Linked DNA regions of Homo sapiens: regions 2 and 3 are each linked to region 1. Evidence: promoter capture Hi-C in 16 types of primary human blood cells and fetal thymus (Javierre and others, 2016). All regions are on one chromosome and are shown on one strand. The core of a region is centred on a gene start or on the middle of the fragment in contact, and the rest is flanking DNA. Distances in the headings are between cores, read along the strand shown. Region 1 holds the start of GYPC (glycophorin C (Gerbich blood group)). Region 2 holds the start of IMP4 (IMP U3 small nucleolar ribonucleoprotein 4). Region 3 overlaps PTPN18 (protein tyrosine phosphatase non-receptor type 18).

Region 1 (3,948 bases), core at 1,090-3,589:
AAGGGGGCCAATATCTTTAAGTAACTCCAGTGTACTCTCATTGTAATTACCTCTTTAATTATTATCGAATATATTACTCACAACAGCCTAACTTTGCAGATTGCTCCAATTTCCAGGCTGAGAAAAATGAGGCTCAGAGAAAGAAAGTGAAATGCTGAAGGTTACGCAGCTAGTAGGCAGTAGAGTAACTAACCCAGATTGAGTTCCAAAGCCCTGTGGTCTTTAATAGCGCAAGGAACTGTCACATCCTCCAGTGATGGCTGGAGCTGAGATTGCTTTAGTTCTGTAACAAATGCTACTTCGTTCTTGTATCTGACCTCTGCAGTTTGTGGGGCTTTCAATTTTCACTGTTTAGTTCGTTAGTTTATTAATTTTTGGCTTATTTTCTGTAAGGAATTCTCTGCAACATTTTGATGCCTTCAACCTGTCTTACCCTAAGAAATTAAGGAAATCTCTTATGATTACGTCTAAGGCCAGTAGGTTCTAAATGAGTCTGTAAAAGTGACTTCTCTAAGTGTGCTGCAATGACCTAATGACTTGTCCGTTGTTACCTGGCAGAACTTTCTGCTTCTTTCCAACTTTCCAGCTGCATTTCAGATAATTAAAGTTATTTTCTCTCAGGACAGAGGAGCGGGACTACTGTTCCACGTAGACGTATGTGTATGTATTACCAAAAAAAAAAGTTAAACTGTTAAAGTAATCACGGGTGCAGTGGCTCACGCCTGTAATCCCAGCACTTTGGAAGGCCAAGGTGGGTGGATCACCTGAGGTCGGGAGTTCGAGACCAGCCTGACCAACATGGAGAAACCCCGTCTCTACTAAAAATACAAAATTAGCCAGGCGTGGAGGCACATGCTGGTAATCCCAGCTACTCGAGAGGTTGAGGCAGGAGAATTGCTTGAACCCAGGAGGCGGAGGTTGTGGTGAGCCGAGATCACGCCGTTGGACTCCAGCCTGGGCAACAAGAGCAAAAACTCCGTCTCAGAAAAATAAATAAATAAATAAATAAAAATAAATTAATCATTACTCATTGCTGTTTATTAAATGCCTTTTCTGTTCCCACTGTGATTCTACAATCACTGCCTCTGTAAAACCCCGGAATGCAGGTGTTCTTGCCTCCATTTTATAGATGAGGAAATCAAGACTCAGGGCTTCCCCACCAGGCCAAAGGCATTCTGTGAGTAGTTTATTTCAATTCAACATGGCTGTGCTGCACATGGCAGTTGGAGTAAAGATCTATCAGCATCGGGGGTTCTTCATGATCTAACTAAAGTGAATCATGAGTGCTTTCCCACTGCGTCAAGAAGGCCTGGAGTTTGTGCAGCCCGGCTAGAGGTGAGCAAAGCCTCTGTGTTGCAAATCTCCAGGGCGCAGCCTCTCATTGTATTCAATGCAGATGACAGTCCCAAAGGCACCGCCCATACATTGTACAGACAGCTGGCCTGGCTCTCCGGATTGTGCAGGATAGGCCTTAATGGCAGAAGGTAGGGGAGAGGTGGGCGTCACAAAAGTGCTTGGGGAACTATAAAGTAAACAATGAAAAGCAGCACAGGAAGGTTCAGACATCACACAGGAGAAGCACAGGGTGTTCCCCTGGGTGGGGATTTAAAACAAGGGCCTCAAGTTCCCTGCCCTTGTCTCTGGGCAGAAGGGGCAGATAATGCTATGATACATTTTTTGTAGGTGGTGCCATTTGACTGCATTTAACCAACAAAGGTATGTATCGAAATCCACGTGGAGATTTTCATGGCAAAAGTAGAGCGAATTCACAAACTGCACTGTGTCTGGCAGCTTCAGACAAAAGCAATGGGAACAAATCACGACTCTTGTCCAGCAATTCTTCCTGTTTTGGAATGATCTTTGCTCAACAGCCCATCCATGAGTACAGGGCCCCCAAAGGCCAACAAGACAGGGACTCTCTCCAGGGACAAATGCCCCGCAGCTGAGAGAGGCCGCCCAGCTATCCAGCGGCCGCGCAGCCAGCCAAGATTTCAACACAGGTCTGCCCTATTTGGTCACCATCCCCGACAGTGCTGGGCCAGGCCATCATGTCACATTGGGGAGTTTTCCCTGCACTCCAGGGGGAATTCTCAACCACAACCTCTGTATCCGGTAGTGGCAGATGGAAAGAGAAACGGTTAGAAAAGCGTGGTTCTTGCGCAGGAAAGTTGGAGCAAAGAAGAGTTCAGAAGTGGGCGGGTGTGTGTTTAAAAAAAAAAAAGGGGGTGGAAACCCCACCAGCCAAGTCTGCAGAAAAAAAATAAATGAAGTCTGCCTATCTCCGGGCCAGAGCCCCTCCCCTCGGCCCGCGCGGGAGGAGTGTGACCCAGGTGCCGCTTCCTCTCGCCGCCGAGGGTCAGGAGCCCGGGAGCGCGACCCTCCCCCGGCCCGGCCTGGCCCGGCCTGGCCAGTCCCCGCGGTCTCTGCCCGGGCTGACGCCCAGGAATGTGGTCGACGAGAAGCCCCAACAGCACGGCGTGGCCTCTCAGCCTCGGTGAGTACCCGCCGTGGGGAAGGGTCCTGGGGACCCACTGGAGGCCGCGGCCCGCAGCAGCCAGGGGCCGAGCCACGGCCACGGACGCCCTGGTGTCCCGGTCCGTGCCGGGCCTCCAGGCGGAGGAGGCGTCCGCTGGGCTCAGATCCCCGACTCCAGCCCCGGTTCCCCGGCGCCTGGGCTGCGCGGAGTCCCTGTCCCGCGTCCCGGACCCCTACGCGCAGCCTCCACGCGCTCCGAGCTGGAGAAGCCGCCAGCCCGCCCTCCCAGGGCGTGTCGCCCGCTTTCTGTTTCTTTGTGCGGGGCATGTGAAATGTGTGGGGCCAGAATTGTCTCCCTAAAGAACAGTTAGGTGAGAGTTCACATCACAAGTTGCTTCTGTGCTGCTCCCCAGCCAGGGTCCGACCGGCCAGGCTCCGGTGAACTCCAGGCAACTCCAGCCTTGCCCAGGGACTTGCTCGCTCCGCTGGGCGCCGCAAAGGCACACAGATGCGAGGGAATCCTGCGGCCTGGATCCTTTGGGGATTTGTAATTCCTCGCTGCTGGTTTTCTCTTTTAAACCATCACGTTTTCTTGCTGAGAGGAAATCATCTGTGATGAAAGTCTTTGTAGATGCTTGGAAACATTGCTGGGCCTCTCTCTGCCCTCTTCCTCTGCCGTTGGACTTTTGCAATAAAAACTACCATTTGATTTTACCAAAAAACGTAATGTACATCCCTCTTACCCCCACCCTGCCGCGGTCTGATTCTTAGAGTCTGTCAGAGAGGAGATACCCTGAGCCTATCATGTGACAATGATACCTTATTGATATGATAATGATATGGGTATTGGAGACACCAACTCTTTTATAAGTCTTTGAAATCCAGGGGGTTGTGAGGCCTCACCCCTCACCCCGCCTGAGCTTGGAGCTTGGCGTGGAGGAGTGCTGCTTCGGTCTACGTGTGTACACGGCACTCCATGTGCCTGTGGTTGTGCTTGCGTCAGCCTGGGAGTGCGCAGGCATCAGTGGTGCTTGGGAGCGAGGCCCCTCAGTCTGCACTGGGATCATCTGCACTGCCTATAAACAAGGCAGCCTCTCTTAGCTCCAGTTTCCTCATCTGCAAAGTAGGAAAGTAGGAATAATAACAGGAGATAACTCATCCAGCAGCACGAAGTGCGTATAAATGTCCCGGCACGGAGTCTGACACATCCTAAGTGCTGGATCCGTGCTGGGCATGTTTATATAATTGCACATGAGACTGTGGTTCCCGGAGCACGTAACTTGAGCATATGTTTATGTGTGTGTATACGGCAGGTCCTGGGTTAAAGGGACAGGAGCCACTGTCATTATTCCAATTCAGTCACTGAGGAGGTGAGGCTGAGAGGCATTCTCATGTCTGAAGAGGATGGGCTTGCCTGACCCCCGCCCCCGTGCCCAGCCCAGCCCAGCAGCCCAAGCAGTTCTCCAGGACTCA
Region 2 (4,019 bases), core at 662-3,161, 3.7 Mb after region 1:
CCTCAGAGGACTCCGGTTCTGGGGTCTTAGTGGGGCCCTTGCGCCTCCGCAGACCTGAGGAAAGAAAGGTTGGAGGAGGCTGGGATCTTACTCCCTGACCTTTATCATCTTGGTGACAATGTTGAGCTTGATCTGAGCTCATGATTCTATAAAACACTGTTGGTTGGAAAATTCCAACTTTGGGGTTCCAGGAAACAGCTTACCACAAAACACAGCCTTTCCCCTTGTGATTCAGATGAGACTGTTTGTCCACTCTTTCCCGTGACTCCTGTAAGACCCACTGATGACCCTGTTTGCCTGTGACACTGATCTTACCCATTGTACCTGAACATGCCAACAGACCAGACATAGACGTTCCAACTCCCCATTCTTTGTCTCAGGATGATTAACTGGGATTAGAAGTTTGTCCCTCTGAAACTAGCTAGACACACAGATAAATATTTTCTGTTCAGCTGACTGAAATGTATGTGATTGTAAATCTATTCCCAGTGTAAAGCAACTCACCAACAATTTCTCTACTTCCTATAAAAGTCTAAGGCAAAACCACCCTACAAAAACATTCTGTTCTTCTGCTCTGGGATGCTCTCTCTTATCGCAAAAACCTAATTTAAATCATCTCCATAATTTGCATTTTGTCTTTGACACTGGGAAGGGGTTCTGCAGAAGGAAGAGGGGGCTCACCTGCTTCGCGAGGCCCCACCTCCTCTGGGGCGTGGACACCAGCTCTCACCACCTTGAACTTCTGGAGTCCCTCCTGGGCCTCGCTGAAGGACGAGAAGGGAGGATGGAGCTTTGGCAGCCCGGGCCTAGAACGCGCCCGCCCGCCCACCCAGCCCAGCATGGAAGCTTCCTCACCTGGCGTGGAGGCAGACCTGGGGCTCCATGTGGGAAGCATACTGCAGGGGCCCTACCGACTTGGCGCCCATCGCGTAGCGAGCCTTGGCGAGCGAGAGCCAGCCCTGCAGGGAGAGGAAAGCGGTGAGACTCAGTTTACGCCCGTGTACCCTCCTGCCCGCCCCAGGCGCCTACCTCCTCCACCCGGGCGTTCAACACCGTTCGTTTCCCCTCCAGCTCCTCCAGGTCCCCAAGCAGCTGCAGGACCAGCGAATCCAGCTCCGCTCGCAGGTCAAGCGCCGCCATGGACACACCTCCAGATCTGGAGCCACCTTCTTCCTTGTCACCCTCCGCAGTTTGGCAGGACAGCCAATAGGCACACGAGATCCTCCATCAAGGGGCGTTCCCATCTGGGGATCCCCACGCCGGCAGCACCAAGGCCTCTGGGTCAGCTTCTTTAAGGGCAAGCGCCCTTAGAGAAGCAGCACGGAAGCAACCAATCAACTGGTTTCTCCAATTAGCCCCCAAGTGGATCAGCCTGCTGAACTGTCGGCTAGGGTTATAGGTGGTTCTGAGTCCTTCCGGAAGCTGCCGAATCTTAGAAGTCGCGCCACTGTTGTGGCGATGGAAGAAGGCGAAGCTCTACAGAAACCATTTTGGTTGAGGGAAGAGTGGTTTTAAAGTTAATTTGGAAAGGAGCCGGCAAGCAACCTTCAGTCGGTGTGCGGTTTTTACAGTTGAACTGTTTCCAGCCGCTAATTATGATTGTTTTAGCGGTTCGTCATCTGAAAACTGCATTCTGCACGGCGGTGGTGGGGGGAGGACGAGGATGGAGAAGCCTGGGCGGACATATTTATTAGCTGCGGTCCTAAGTCACGTGTGACATTCTGTATCCAGTCTATCGGTTATCCCAAGGAGAACGCCCTGCCGGAATGGCCAATCGCCTTGAGATGTCCCCGCCCTATTCGCCATCTTAACATAGGGCATTCCCCACAGCTGCAGGCACCAGTGAAGCGTCTAAGGGACCATCTTGGTTGAGGGCGGAAGTGAGGACTGTGTCGCGCTGGAGGAGCCCACAGATTCTCCCGGACCCACGTGGAAGCGGCACTCAAGATGGTAGGAGAATGAGCTCCTGTTTCGGAGGTCCGGGGCGCGTGAAGTGCTGGGGATGTGGCTCTGGGGACTTGGAGGCTCAGCGGCTCCGGGGCTCCGGGGTTCCGGGGCTCGGGAGCGAGTAGTGAGTGACTGGGCCTGCTGTTCCCACAGCTGCGCCGCGAGGCCCGCCTGCGCCGCGAGTACCTGTACCGCAAGGCCCGGGAGGAGGCGCAGCGCTCAGCCCAGGAGAGGAAGGAGCGGCTGCGGCGCGCGCTGGAAGGTAAGGCATCGGCCCCGCGGGCGTCTGCGTGGTAAACCACCCCGGCACGCATTTGTGTTCGAATATCCGAGCGTCTTTCCAAATGCTTGCCGGCCGTTTTCCTTGCCCATTGGGTTCTCCTGTTGGTTTTGAGAGTGTTTCTTCCGTGTGATGGTATTAATTACTTGTCACTGACGTTGCAGTACCCGGGTTTTGCAGCTTGCCCGCTGTGTGCAGTGTGTCAAGTTCGTCCCAAGTTTTAAAGACTTTATCTTGTCCTGTAGAAATTCTCTTTAGAGCGGTGGCTCACTGCTGTAATCCCAGCACTTTGGGAGGCCGAGGCGGGCGGATCATGAGGTCAGGAGTTCGAGCCTGACCAACATGGTGAAATCTCGTCTCTACTAAACATACAAAAATTAGCCGGCCGTGGTGGCACGCGCCTGTAATCCCAGCTACTCAGGAGGCTGAGGCAGGAGAATCGCTTGAACCCGGGAGGCGGAGGTTGCAGTGAGCCGAGATCCTGCCACTGCACTCCAGCCTGGGCAAAAAAGCAAGACTCCGTCTCAAAAAAAAAAAAAAAAAGAAATTCTCTCTAAAGACTATCTGGATAGCGCTGGTGCTGCAGACTGCGCTGCCCATCCTCCCTGCAGGAGTTCCTCTGAGCTCCGTGGGGAACAGTGCTGGCCCCGAGTGCGCACCTGGAGCGCTGTGCTCTGCGGTAGGCAGCCTGTGGTCCAGGGCCCGCTGAAGCCATGCCTTCGAAGCGCTGTGGGCATCGTGACCAACGGTTTTGCTGTCTGAGAGCTTAAAGGTCTCTGGTCCACCATCATACGTACAGAACAGTCTATATTTCTTTTCAAAAGTAATTTTTAAGGCCGAGCGCTGTGGCTCACGCCTGTAATCCCAGCACTTTGGGAGGCCGAAGCGGGTGGATCACGAGGTCAGGAGATCGAGACCATCCTGGCTAACACGGTGAAACCCCGTCTCTACTAAAAATATAAAAAATTAGCCGGGCGCCGTGGCGGGCTCCTGTAGTCCCAGCTACTCGCCAGCCTGAGGCAGGAGAATGGCGTGAACCCAGGAAGCGGAGCTTGCAGTGAGCCGAGATGGCACCACTGCACTGCTCTGCCTGGGTGACAGAGCGAGACTCCGTCTCAAAAAAAAAAAAAATCGATGTTTAGATTTCTACCTGATTATAAAAGCAATACAGTACATTAAGATATTTTAGAAAGTCCTCAAGTCATGAGACTAAAGAAAATGAAGTCCTAGTAACCACTGTTTATGGGGGTTGGCCTGTAGAAAGTTTTGTCACCTCTATCCATGCTTTATCCAAGCTCAGAAAGGGCTGAGGTATTTTTATTTCAAGCATGTGCAGGCTAATAAGCTGTGGTGTATTGGATGAGCTGAGGTCTCCATGCTTGTGACTCACTCAGCCCCTCTCTCTTCCCTCTGCAGAAAACCGCCTGATTCCCACTGAGTTACGCCGAGAGGCTCTGGCCTTACAGGGGTCCCTGGAGTTTGATGATGCTGGAGGTGAAGGTAACTATACAAGGTAGCCCTCCCCAACACTGAGCTGGCAGGTCTCCAGTCCTTCCTCAGACACACCGGGCACCATCCCATCAGAGGAAACTGCTCCTGGAACTGTCCCCCATGCCCTTGTCACTGCACAGATGGCATTGCAGGGCTCTCCCTGAGTGTGCCCTGTCCCACTTACATGGCACACATGGGAGTGCCTCACTGACTCTGCACCTGGCTTGTTAATTACCTCCCCCACTGGAGTGCCTGCTGGGGAAAGACAGTGTCCCTCACACATTATTGGTGCCCATACGTT
Region 3 (3,848 bases), core at 460-2,959, 3.7 Mb after region 1:
TTTATTTGCATACCTCTGTTCCTTCCAGGACTCTGCCCTGCAAATTCTAGCTGCTTTTGCCTCCTTGAGCCATGGTCTCTGGCTCAACTCAGTGGGATCATTAGACTCATGTCTTACAGCCTGGTGACACTTCCATGCAATAAGCCGGAGTGGTCTGTTCAGTGACCACAGTACTGCAACACCTGCCAACCAGTGTCTGAAAATAGTGGCTCATGTATTTTGTCCAGTTTCTAGTTGCTTACAGTGGGAGGGTATCCTGGACTGTATTTCCCCTGCATGGTCAGCAGCGCACCTCCATTGAGTCTGCATGTGTTTAATCTGATGGCTCTGTTGGCTGGCGTCTGTTATAGGTTATAAGTATAGCTGCCTGTGCTTCCACCACGAGCACCTGGGGTGTCTTGTGGCATGATTGAGCTAGCTCTGAAGCTGACTCCCTCTTCTCACTCCCTGCCTTTTCTCCCTTACCTTTTGCAGAAAAGGTGTGAGCGGTACTGGGCCCAGGAGCAGGAGCCACTGCAGACTGGGCTTTTCTGCATCACTCTGGTGAGCTGTGGGAGTTTTCAAGGAAGATTCCCAGGGTGGAAAGGCTTTGGGTTGGGCCTAAAAGGTTGAATGATTTAACCCACAGTCCACTCATACTGCAGGAAACCCTCTGGTGTTAGCCTGCAAATAGTTAGAACTTACTATAGGGATAGCCTTTGCATTTTTATTTTGGCTACAATCAGTTAATCTCTGTCATGTAAATGTGCCTGGTTAGGTTGTTGAAATTCTTACTTCTCTTACCATTTCAAAAGAGCTTGGGGAACTCTCTCAAGTCATACATACAGTTAGTACTTAATAAATGCAATAAAAGTTTCATTTTAGAACAAAAGACATCTCTTTTCATTGCAAAAGGGCTTGTGTTTTTATAATAGTTCCTCTTTTGCTCCTGTGTCAAATGTTTCCTTAATGAAAGCTTTGGGGAAAGTTTGGGCTATATGAATTTTTAAAATGTTTTCTGTATTTGATTTTTTAATCAGGAATGCTTTGCTTTCTATAAATGTCTTCTGGTACCTATGATCTTTGTTCTCCTCCCTCTTCTTACTTGCCCCACCCCCCTTACTCAGATAAAGGAGAAGTGGCTGAATGAGGACATCATGCTCAGGACCCTCAAGGTCACATTCCAGAAGGTACTGTGACAGGGGAGGAGGAGGTAAAGGGGCTCCTGAAAGGGGAGAGGTTTCCTCTCCTGTAAAAATGGGCATCATACTAGTACCCACTTCCTCAGTTATTGTCTGGTAGACATAAATGGAAGATGCCTAGAAGTGGGCCTGGTGTATAGTAGATGGCCAATTAATGCTTTTTTCTTTTTTTTCCTAAGTCTTTTGCTCATCTTTTTCTGTGTTTCAGGAGTCCCGTTCTGTGTACCAGCTACAGTATATGTCCTGGCCAGACCGTGGGGTCCCCAGCAGTCCTGACCACATGCTCGCCATGGTGGAGGAAGCCCGTCGCCTCCAGGGATCTGGCCCTGAACCCCTCTGTGTCCACTGCAGGTTTTGGAAATGGGCTTCAGGAGGGTCTGGTGAGGCAGAGGGGACAGAGCATGGAGGGGAGTACAGGGCATGGGGCTAGTCTTGTAGTCTGAGTGCCTATTTTGAGAACCCTTGCTCACCCTCCATGGACTGTAATTGTGAGCACTTGTTCAGCACAGACTCAGCTGGGGAATAAGCACACAGCTCTTGCTCAACAAAATGTAAGTGATTAAAAAGGTTTTCCTTGTTCAGATATAATCTGAAGATTCTGGGAATCAAGAGGCTCTGCAGGGGATCCATCAGGACCCTCACCCCCATCCCCAAATGCCCCATCTAAAAGGGGTTGTGGTCAGGACCTGACCAGGCACACTCTGATTCTCTTGTCAGTGCGGGTTGTGGGCGAACAGGCGTCCTGTGCACCGTGGATTATGTGAGGCAGCTGCTCCTGACCCAGGTACGATACAGGCATCCTGTGTGTGCAGTGTGCTGCCCATGACCACGTGTCCTGCTCAAGTGCCTTGTCTGTCTGCCCCAGATGATCCCACCTGACTTCAGTCTCTTTGATGTGGTCCTTAAGATGAGGAAGCAGCGGCCTGCGGCCGTGCAGACAGAGGTGAACCCTGGGTCTCCTAATCTTCAGGGACAGTGGCCCACTGCTGTCATTTGCCCCTGCCTTCCCTTCTTGATGGTCCCTCACCCCAACAGGAGCAGTACAGGTTCCTGTACCACACGGTGGCTCAGATGTTCTGCTCCACACTCCAGAATGCCAGCCCCCACTACCAGAACATCAAAGAGGTACAGAGGCTCCTTTCCCACTCTCCTGTCCACCATCAGCACCCTCAGAGACCAGGACCCCGAGCAGGGTCCAGCCCCCGGGACTACTGGGAGCAGGCACTGACTATGACATCCACCTGTGCCCTCCTCCAGGCATCCTTATCAGGCTCTCCCATCTTAAGCTTTCTCCCAGAGCCCCTTGAGAGGCCTGGCCAGCTTCCTCCCTCAGGAGCCTCCCCTCCTGTTTTTCTTCAGAATTGTGCCCCACTCTACGACGATGCCCTCTTCCTCCGGACTCCCCAGGCACTTCTCGCCATACCCCGCCCACCAGGAGGGGTCCTCAGGTACCCGGCTCCATCCCCGGATTCTTCCCTGCCCAATTTCTCAGGCTAACCCCTTCTTCATCCTTGGAACACCAGTCCGTTCCTTGTTCACTTCGCCAAGTGTTCGCTGGCCCTTTCTTCGAATTGAGCTCTGGGAACCCACCCCAAGATGATTCAATTATCCCAAGATGATTCATTTACCCCTTGCCTCTGCCTCTAAGGCTTGCCCTGCCTTCTGAGTTAGGCCTTTCCTGGATCCTCTAATCAAACCTTAATTCAGGTGGCTCACCCCTGTAATCCCAGCACTTCGGGAGGCCAAGGAGGGCGGATCACTTGAGCCCAGCTGGAGACCAGCCTGGTTAACATGGTGAAACCCTGTCTCTACTAAAAATACAAAAATTAGCCAGGCGTGCTGGTGAGAGCCTGTAATCCCAGCTACTCCGGAGGCTGAGGCAGGAGAGTCGCTTGAGCCCGGGAGGTGGAGGTTGCAGTAAGCCGAGATCGCACCACGGCAGTCCAGCCTGGGCGACAGAGCGAGATCCTGTCTCAAAAAAACAACAAAAAAAATTCAGCAAATAATTCTAGACGCCGCCTTCTTGTCAGGCCGCACGTTGGGTGCTGCGGACATGGGATTGAGCCGCCTTCGCAGCGGAGACTTAAGGCCCTTGTCCTTGCGGCCATCCCTTCCTGTCTTCTATGCCACTTCCGCATTCTTTTGTTCAGTAGACGTTGACACAGAAATGACCACCCCTCAAACCAACACTCTGCCCCAAATTACCCTCCAGGCTGACCCCGTTCCTCCTTCATCCCCCTAACTTGCAGGGCGCTAGGGACACAGAAGCGAGGCCTCCAACCCAAGGAGCCCTCCCTCCCATCTAGCGCACCGCCTCGGCGGGAAGGAAGCCCGTGGTTTGCGCGCTGAGCAGCCTCCCCACTCCCGCCCTGCCCAGCGCCGCCGTTTCACTTCCTCCCGGCCCTCCCTGCCTGCAGGAGCATCTCTGTGCCCGGGTCCCCGGGCCACGCCATGGCTGACACCTACGCGGTGGTGCAGAAGCGCGGGGCTCCAGCGGGCGCCGGGAGTGGGACGCAGACGGGGACGGGGACGGGGACGGGGGCGCGCAGCGCGGAGGAGGCGCCGCTCTACAGCAAGGTGACGCCGCGCGCCCAGCGACCCGGGGCGCACGCGGAGGACGCGAGGGGGACGCTGCCTGGCCGCGGTGAGTCGAGGCTTGCTCCTTCT

The links. The method cuts DNA at HindIII sites, captures the fragments that hold promoters and counts their contacts. A CHiCAGO score of 5 or more calls a contact.
Region 2: the fragment with the promoter of IMP4 here is called in contact with the fragment with the promoter of GYPC in region 1 in 1 of 17 cell types (naive CD8 T cells); the score reaches 6.8 in naive CD8 T cells.
Region 3: a contact is called between a fragment that was not itself captured here and the fragment with the promoter of GYPC in region 1, in 1 of 17 cell types (non-activated CD4 T cells). The highest score is 6.9, in non-activated CD4 T cells.

Annotation. Positions count from the first base shown.
Region 1 is chr2:126,653,819-126,657,766 of GRCh38, forward strand. It overlaps GYPC (glycophorin C (Gerbich blood group)), which reads left to right and starts at 2,340. Exons shown (of 4, transcript NM_002101.5): 1 at 2,340-2,494. The coding sequence starts at 2,446. RefSeq lists enhancers at 1,990-2,279, 3,073-3,912, 3,370-3,619, 3,810-3,948 and a silencer at 2,370-2,739. The HindIII fragment of the contact is 9,683 bases long and covers 1-3,948 here.
Region 2 is chr2:130,340,986-130,345,004 of GRCh38, forward strand. IMP4 (IMP U3 small nucleolar ribonucleoprotein 4) reads left to right here and starts at 1,912. Exons shown (of 9, transcript NM_033416.3): 1 at 1,912-1,950; 2 at 2,101-2,209; 3 at 3,644-3,727. The coding sequence starts at 1,948. VMA22 (vacuolar ATPase assembly factor VMA22) reads right to left here and starts at 1,179. Exons shown (of 5, transcript NM_032357.4): 1 at 1,030-1,179; 2 at 856-959; 3 at 682-764; 4 at 1-54. The coding sequence starts at 1,140. RefSeq lists enhancers at 1,095-1,644, 1,775-1,944. The HindIII fragment of the contact is 8,635 bases long and covers 845-4,019 here.
Region 3 is chr2:130,368,659-130,372,506 of GRCh38, forward strand. PTPN18 (protein tyrosine phosphatase non-receptor type 18) reads left to right here. Exons shown (of 15, transcript NM_014369.4): 6 at 475-543; 7 at 1,107-1,169; 8 at 1,390-1,532; 9 at 1,899-1,965; 10 at 2,047-2,124; 11 at 2,217-2,306; 12 at 2,541-2,629; 13 at 3,599-3,825. Among named protein-coding and RNA genes, the nearest start is that of PTPN18, 15 kb to the left of the region's middle. RefSeq lists an enhancer at 3,172-3,799 and a silencer at 3,526-3,848. The HindIII fragment of the contact is 1,512 bases long and covers 954-2,465 here.